Regions from separate parts of the Homo sapiens genome. Here all the other regions are linked to region 2. Evidence: promoter capture Hi-C in human tissues and cell types (Jung and others, 2019). All regions are on one chromosome and are shown on one strand. Each heading gives the region's core, a stretch centred on a gene start or on the middle of the fragment in contact. The rest is flanking DNA. Distances are from core to core; before and after follow the strand shown.

Region 1 (2,797 bases), core at 92-2,591, 490 kb after region 2:
AGGAAAAGGAGAGAAAGGAGAAGGCTGGTCTTGACAGCCAAGACAGAATTCTGACTAAGGAGCCTCAAGGAGCGTAGATGTAGGGAGGAGACAGCAGGATGAGGTACTGGGGCACCTTCCAGCCCCGCCTCCTAGACAAGAGAGCCCAAAGGCCAGGATAGGACATGTTCTGGAACAGACTCCCTGTCACTGACAGCAGATCTGGGGTGAGAAGGGGAGTTCTTTCCCCGGATTGAGTTTGATGATAACTGCTGGCTTTATTTTCTGATGATCTAGTTCATAGCAAAAGTGCAGTGAGTTTTGAGCTAGTTAGCCATTGAAAATAAATGGTAATTGGGGACTCGAACTTGCAAGCCAGAGTTGGGTAGCTGCCCACTGTCATGAAAGGCAGAATTTAAAAACCTGGTAGGAAGAAGCAGTGTTTCTCTGTAATATTTAACTCACAGTCTAATGCTCTGAAGTTGGTACTCTTGTTATATGAAAACGTGGAAGGTTAATGAAAGTGGGGTTTGTGCTAACAGAGTTGGATTGTGACAGAGGTCAAATATCTGCTTCTCTTTCCCTTATCCCTGTAATCTTGGCTTCAAGAGCTACAAGACCATCAGATGCCAGTAATCCCCAGACCAGCAACAGCAGCATCACCTGGGAACTTGTTAGAAATGCCAATTCCCAGGCCCCACAGCAGACCTATGAACTAGAAACTTTAGGGGCGGGGCCCAGCAATCTGTATTTTAACAAGCCCTCCAGGTGATTCTGAGGTGGACTCAGGTGTGAGAACCAATGGTCCGGAGTATGGTATGCTTCCTAATTTGCTGTTTATTAAGGAAAGTCAGCCTTCTGAGTGAGCTAGCTGTCTGCCTCCTATCTTGCCTCCTTCTCCTCTTCTCCTCCACCAGTGGGACAACCACTATTGGAAGATTCGGGGTTTGTCCTGCTGCTTTCCTAGGCCTCGGTATTTGTACAGGAAACTGTCTCTCCACCCATCTGTCTGGCTCTGGGCCCCAGCTGTCTCACTCCTCTCCTGGGACTCTCACTATTGTTGTTCCAGTGAGGTTGTTTCTACTCAGTGCTGGGAAGGGAGGCATAAACGTGGCTTTTGTTCCTCTAGTGGGACCACAGATCAAGGCAGACCATGGAACTCTTCTTCAGAGTTCTGTTTGCTGTGACAAGGGGCTTTCAAGGGAGGCCCTGGCTGTCCTTCTCAGGAGAAGCAGTGAAAATGACTTGTCTGGTCCTGGGATAGGATGCCAGCAGCTGTGTGTGACTGGGCATGCTCTGGGGAAGTTGGGGCTTCAGTCAGAGAGCTGTGGGCCCTACTTGCCCATCCCTCTCTCATTTATCTGTCAATATCCTGTTGTGCAGTGCCCTGGGGAATCCCAGGGGGAAGAGTCTAATGCTACAGGTAGCTCCCATAGGTTTAACTACAGAGGGAACCTGTTCTGTTTTTTGAGAGAGATCAGGACGCTGAGTTAATTTCTTGAAATATATTTTGCCAAATGCTTTTTTTCTTTTTATTCTAATTAAAGCCAAGGCATTAAAAGGTATAGTGTCTATTGGAATTGTGTCATATCTTATTCCCCTTATTCAGCTCCTCCTTTCTAGGGAGCATGTCAGGAGCCTGTCACAGAAGCTCTGCCTTTGTCTCTGTGGCACTGATTAGAGGCTGCCAGGCTTCTGAGGGGATTTGGTTTGATTACATATATTTGAAATTTTCTACTCTTCTGATCAGGAAAAAAATAGCCTTGGGTAAGAAGAAGACGCAGATTTGTACTTTAAGAGCCACTTTGGGCATATTTCCAAAATGGTAGCCACTCCCAGATCTTGGGGACACTACAAGGTGGACATGTAGCCAAGATCCATTCATGCATTCTTGTCCAGGGAGGACAGGCTTCTGTTCCTTGAGTGCATTGACTCATTGCTGAGGCCTTGTGCATTCAAGTCCATCCATCCTGGAGGAAGAAGAGGTCTCAAGAGGCTGAGGAAGTTGGCACGAAAACTCACAGGGTTTTTATGTATATTTTGTGTCTTGATTTTAGCCCCACAGTCATCCTTAGATGTAAGATTAACTCTGTTTTAGAGATAAGGAAGCTGAAGCTTGAGTACATTAAGGGATGGGTCTGAGATCACAAGCTGAGAAGTGGCAGACCAGGGCCTTGACTCTAAGTCTACTTAGTGCTCGTTCTCAAAGCCTTTGCCTTCCCAGAGCTCCTCCCCTTTCTGCTCCCTGTGCCTCAACTTCTAAGGAACATAAGTAACCTGATAGGAGAGTTGAAAAGGAAACTGCACCCAGACTGCACTCAGGACTCAAAGATCCTGACCTGTTTGCTAATGAAATGTGTCTACCTCAGGATCCATCACATATGTTGGCACTGGCCAGTAAACAATTTTTTTGTGAAGAGGAGGGAAATAATCAAAGAGTTATGAGGACCAGTGAGTTTATCATATTTCTCCTGACCCTGGCCATCCAGGATACTCCCTAAAACCCCAGAAATTCCCAGATTTTGCCAAACATGCATTTGTCTTTTGCAAAAAAAAAAAGAAAAAAGCAGCAATAAAATGAGTTGTCAAACTGTCCTTAGGGTTGGAGCAAGGGGAAGTCGATCTTTCCCCAAATTCTAGATTTTCTTTACAAGTTATTTGAAGCAGCGTTGTATGAGAAGTGCAGCTGTATTAGAGAATGTGTGTGTGTGTTGGGAGTGGGGATCGGGGGGTATAAGTGTGAGAGAGAAAGAGAAGAGAGAGAGAGAGACAGAGAATAGAGAAAGAGAATATGAGCTTCACAAATACAAAGCAATGA
Region 2 (2,863 bases), core at 361-2,860:
CCTTCACATAAGAGCTACCTTTTGCCTTGACTTTCTTTATGACCTTGGGCAAAGTCTACCAAATGAGGATTATAATAATGTTTGTGTGTTCCTGTTTATTATTGAAAATTAACCATAACATCGTGCAAACAATAGTGAAATTCTCTAAACTGGACCTATCCAGAACTGAAAACCTGAGTTATAAATATCAACTGATATTCAATGTGAACAGTTTTTAAAATTTTAATTTGATTAGTGAAAACAAAAAAACCTACAAAGATCCCAAATTCAACATGATTAATAAATTCCGAAAACACCAACAGCCTCCTTATTACTTCTCTTTATGAACAATTGGTCTGCAATGTAATTTAAAAAAAAGGAAAGAAAAAGTAAAGAAATATAGTAAAACTAGCTTTAACACGCCATTTCCCTTTTCTAAGAATAAAAAATGGACCAGGAACGAAAATTTAAAACTGGGCGAAGAATGGGGAGACAAAGCAATCTACAATTTGAAAATTACACAGATAAATCCATCATTTCAAGTCACTAATTTGTATACCCACTGAAGAAATTCATCTTGGTACTGCGTTACCAGCATTAGGAAGATAAATCCCTGCCTCGGAGGAACATCTACTGAGTACGTTTCATTTCAGGATCTCAGGTAAGTTTACGAGCTCTTAGATCTCTTTAGGTTTCCCTAAGGTACGCTGAAGTGTTTAACATCATTCACACATCCAGCCACCACTAGGGTGAGAAGTAAATAAACAAGATTTACTTATGCAATTATTTACCACAGAACTCTGGTCAAGAATGCAAAAGTAAACACCCATACAGACATTTAAAATCCAAAGAAAGCAGAGAATATTAAGGATAATAAGGTTCACTCTTTAACTGACCACTGTGGAAACCAGACGCCTTCCACATGGACTGTTCTTTACTACCACTCCCGATTTGAAAAAGTAACAATGTCAACTCGAGATTTTAACAGTACAAAAGATAAACAGAACTTAGTCAAATCCCTTCTTCCAGATTCTGAAAAGGTGTTTATAAGAACTGAGATAAGAGCAACGCCCCCCTAAAAGCACCCTACTCCAAAGAATGAAATGCTGAAAACATGAGGTGGGCCAAAAAGGTTAAAAAAAGCTAAACTTCTAACTTAATTACCCAGAGGTTGGGGACTAGGAACTTGAGATCGGAGTGGGGGTGGGTAGCAAAGTGAAATCTAACCCCAGAAATCACAACGCAGGCCGCAACCTAAGAGGTGAAGCTGGCGGGAAGTGAGCTCCCTTTCTGTTCCCAGGGGAAAGTCCAGACAGGAGCGGCTCCGCACAGTGGACGTACGAGGCGCCAAAGAGTGCATGCCTACCAAGGCGCCAGAGCCGCTGGAGGACCAGGTTTAGAAGGGGAGGAGATCCCGGCAGACGGCCCTGGAAGAGGAGGAGGACTGAGATTGGAAGCAGCGGCGGCGTCTGGACGAAGGGGATTACCTAACTGTGACGACAGAGAAGTGTCCTCAGGCTCCGGCGATGGTCCCGACTGCGCAATGTGTGGTGTCTTTCCCGCTTACCCCGCAGCAGCAACAGAACCAGCTCCTTCAGCCAGTCGCCATTTCCCGCCTACCGACCTGCTGCACCGCACGGACAGGGACCCGGATGGAAAGCGGCCTCTCCGCGCAGGCGCCCTGACTTCCTCCTCCCCCTCCCGCCACAATTCCGCGAGGTGGGAGGGAAGGAATGCGGGCAGCCACAACGGCAACAACAACCAAAAAAACACTTTTACTTCCGTGAAGAGCGTTGAAGTTCCTTACGCCGGAAGAAACTCTCTAGTCTGAATCCTGGAGAAAAACTGAACACAAGGCCTTAGTACTGGGTCGATTAAGAAAGGACAAAACCTATCAGGATGAGCAAGGGCCTGGGGGATATTTGTACATTAGGGGCCTCCGTAGCCGGCTGTGTAGTGGTCGCAGGGGGAGTAGGGAGTAAAGCGTTAGGAGTGGAGAGGCGGGGACCCGAAGGACGGTTTTTCCTCCCGCTCCTAACGGAACTGCTTGGGCAGAGCTGGGAGGGGGAGCGCGCCCTTGCCCCGGAGGCGGGGCTTAGGAACGCGTAGTGCACCCTGGCGGCTAGGGTTTAGTAACTGTGGGCGCGCTGGGTAGGTGGAGCTGAGGGGATAAGGCGGGACTAACGGCTTGGCGCGCTGGAGGAGGTAGTTCGTAGGGAGAGCTGCCTGAGGCCGGGAGAAAGCGAATCTGGCGCCTTTCCTGGGATTTCGGTGGCCCTTGAAGGTTCCCTTTCCAGCTCATTGCCTAGAGGGCGTAGCAGTCGCTTTTGGATCATAAATATTCATGCCCTTCGACTCAACCCTATGTTGGCGGTGATTCTGCAGGTTGAAAACTCGGATCTTTCAGGCCAGTGGGCTCCCACCTGCGACCCTAGGTCAAAGGACGGTCAGCTCCACAGAGTGAAAATGTATCAGTCCAGAGAATCCAGTTCTAGTGGGGTATCGGAAAACCAAGCCTAGTGTTTGGAAGAACATTTTTCACTGAAACTCCAAGCCACTCTCCTTATTCAATCAAGAAATATTTATTGAAAAAATAACTAGGTGCGACGGGTAAAACAGTGAGCCAGGCAGACACGGATACTGCCTTCCCCAAAGGTAATGATTTTTTTTTTTTTTCGAGACGGAGTCTTCACTCTGTCGCCCAGGATGGAGTGCAGTGGCGCGATCTCGGCTCAAACCTCCACCTCCCGGGTTCAAGCGATTCTTCTGCCTCAGCCCCCCGAGAAGCTGGGATTACAGGCGCGCGCCACCACGACCGGCTAATTTTTGTATTTTTAGTAGAGACGGGGTTTCACCACGTTGGTCAGGCTGGTCTCGTACTCCT
Region 3 (2,870 bases), core at 53-2,552, 390 kb after region 2:
GCACCTGCCAGTTGCCAGCGAGAGCTCTCCTATATGAGATGTCTGTTGGCCCCTACTGGGAGGTGTCTTCCAGTCAGAATACACAGGGGTCAGGGACCCACTTGAGGAGGCAGCCTGTCCCTTATCAGAGCTTGAATGCTGTGCTGGGAGATCTGCTGCTCTCTTAAGAGCTGTCAGGCAAGGACATTTAAGTCTGCTGAAGCTGCACTTGCAGCTGCCCCTTCCCCCGGGTGCTCTGTCCCAGGGAGATGGGGGTTTTATCTGTAAGTCCCTGACTGAGGCTGTTGCCTTTTTTTCAGAGATGCCCTGCCTAGAGAGGCAGTCTGGCCACAGCAGCCTTGCTGAGCTGTGGTGGGCTCCGCCCAGTTCAGACTTACGAGAGGCTTTGTTTACACTGTGAGGGCAAAACCACCTACTCCATCCTTAGCAATGGTGGATGCCCCTCCCCCTACAAAGCTTGAGCATTCTAAGTCGACCTCAGACTGCTGTGCTAGCAGCAAGAATTTCAAGCCAGTGGATCTTAGCTTGCTCGGCTCTATGGGGGTGGGACCTGCCGAGCCAGGCACTGGAGGGAATTTCATGGTCTGCCGGTTGTGAAGACCATGGGAAAAGTGCAATATCTGGGCCGCAGTGCACTGTTCCTCCCGGTACAGTCTCTCAAGGCTGCCCTTGGCTAGGAATGGGAAATCCCCTGACCCCTCGTGCTTCCCGGGTGAGGCAATGCCCCACCCTGCTTCAGCTCGCCCTCTGTGGGCTGCACCCACTGTCCAACCAGTCCCAATGAGATGAACTGGGTACCTCAGTTGGAAATGCAGAAATCACCTGTTTTCTGCATTGATCTTGCTGGGAGCTGCAGACTGGAGCTGTTCCTATTCAGCCATCTTGACAGCCACTGAGAATTGTTATAAAAAAAAAAAAAAAAAAAAGCTCTGGCTAGCCATATGCAGAAAGCTGAAACTGGACCCCTTCCTTACACCTTATACAAAAATTAACCCAAGATGGATTAAAGACTTAAACATAAGACCTAAAACCATAAAATCCTAGAAGAAAACCTAGGCAATACCATTCAGGACATAAGCATGGGCAAAGAGTTCATGACTAAAACACCAAAAGCAATGGCAACAAAAACTAAAATTGACAAATGGGATCTAATTAAACTAAAGAGCTTCTGCACAGCAAAAGAAACTATCATCAGAGTGAACAGTTAACCTACAGAATGGGAGAACATTTTTGCAATCTATCCATCTGACAAAGGGCTAATATCCAGAATCTACAAAGAACTTAAATTTACAATAAAAAAAACCCCATCAAAAAGTGGGTGAAGGATATGAACAGACACTTCTCAAAAGAAGACATTTATGTGGCCAACAAACATATGAAAAAAAGCTCATCATCACTGGTCATTAGAGAAATGCAAATCAAAACCTCAATGAGATAACATCTCACACCAGTTAGAATGGCAATCACTAAAAAGCCAGGAAACAACAGATGCTGGAGAAGATGTGGAGAAATAGGAATGCTTTTGTTGGTGGGAGTGTAAATTAGTTCAACCATTGTGGAAGACAGTGTGGTGATTCCTCAAGGATCTAGAACCAGAAATACCATTTGACCACCAATCCCATTAATAGGTATATAACCAAAGGATTATAAATCATTCTACTATAGACACATGTTGCTGGGCACAGTGGCTCACACCTGTAATCCCAACACTTTAGGAGGCCGAGGCAGGTGGATCATGAGGTCAAGAGATCAAGACCATTTCCTGGTCAACATGGTGAAACCCCAACTCTACTAAAACTATAAAAAAAAAAAAAAGCTGGGTGTGGCGGCATGCACCTGTAGTCCCAGCTACTTGGGAGGCTGAGGCAGGAGAATTGCTCGAACCTGGGAGGCAGAGGTTGCAGTGAGCTGAGATTGCGCCACTGCACTCCAGCCTGGCGACAGAGCAAGACTCCATATCAAAAAAAAAAAAAAAAAGAGAAAAGACACATGTACACGTATGTGTATTGAGGCATTATTCACCATAGCAAAGACTTGGAACCAACTCAAATGCCCATCAATGATAGACTGGATAAAGCAAATGTGGCACATATATACCATGGAATACTAGGCAGCCATAAAAAAGGATGAGTTCATGTCCTTTGCAGGGATATGGATGAAGCTGGAAACCATCATTCTAAGCAAACTATCACAGGAACAGAAAACCAAACACCGTATGTTCTCACTCATAAGTGGGAGGTGAACAATGAGAACACATGAATACAGGGAGGGAAATATCACACACCAGGGCCTGTCGGGGGTTGGGGGAGCTAGGGGAGGGATAGCATTAGGAGAAATACCTAATGTAGTTGACAGGCTGATGGGTAGAGCAAACCACCGTGGCACATGCATACCTATGTAACAAACATGCACATTCTGCACATGTATCCCAGAACTTAAAGTATTAAAAAAAAAACTGTAGTTGTAATGTTGAGTGCTGCCTAACAGTCAGGCAAAATAATGATTGAAAAGTACCTGTTGGATTTAACAACAAGAATTTCATTAGAGTCCTTTACCAGAACCTTTTAGTGACCAAGTAGGGAAGAAGATCCAAAAGAAGTGGCAGAGTCAGGAATATGATCAGGATGCTCACCAGCACTGCTTCTTTACCACTGTACTGAAGGCCGATGCACAAAACAAAAAAGTATAAGGATTAGAAAGAAACAAGTGTCATTACTTACAGATGATATACTATTTTGTATTAGAAAAATCCAAGAGAATCTACAAGCTAGTGAGTTCAAGAATATGTAAAACTCAGTTTGATTTTTGTTCTAAGTGCTTGACACATACGATTTTATTTAATCCTCTTAATAACTATGATCAACTACAAT

The links. Contacts are between HindIII fragments. The study calls those that stand out against the background at their distance.
Region 1: a fragment that was not itself captured here is called in contact with the fragment with the promoter of CTDSPL2 in region 2 in 1 of the 25 tissues and cell types used here (dorsolateral prefrontal cortex).
Region 3: a fragment that was not itself captured here is called in contact with the fragment with the promoter of CTDSPL2 in region 2 in 1 of the 25 tissues and cell types used here (dorsolateral prefrontal cortex).

What each region holds. Positions count from the first base shown.
Region 1 is chr15:43,931,330-43,934,126 of GRCh38, reverse strand. All of the region lies in intron 1 of FRMD5 (FERM domain containing 5), which reads left to right. Among named protein-coding and RNA genes, the nearest start is that of WDR76, 110 kb to the right of the region's middle. The HindIII fragment of the contact is 4,303 bases long and covers 1-2,797 here.
Region 2 is chr15:44,426,376-44,429,238 of GRCh38, reverse strand. It overlaps CTDSPL2 (CTD small phosphatase like 2), which reads right to left and starts at 1,610. Exons shown (of 13, transcript NM_016396.3): 1 at 1,467-1,610. RefSeq lists enhancers at 886-1,492, 1,557-1,936, 1,493-2,100, 2,217-2,446, 2,101-2,708. The HindIII fragment of the contact is 11,921 bases long and covers 1-2,863 here.
Region 3 is chr15:44,036,577-44,039,446 of GRCh38, reverse strand. The region is part of intron 1 of FRMD5 (FERM domain containing 5); the gene reads left to right. Among named protein-coding and RNA genes, the nearest start is that of FRMD5, 160 kb to the left of the region's middle. The HindIII fragment of the contact is 3,739 bases long and covers 1-2,870 here.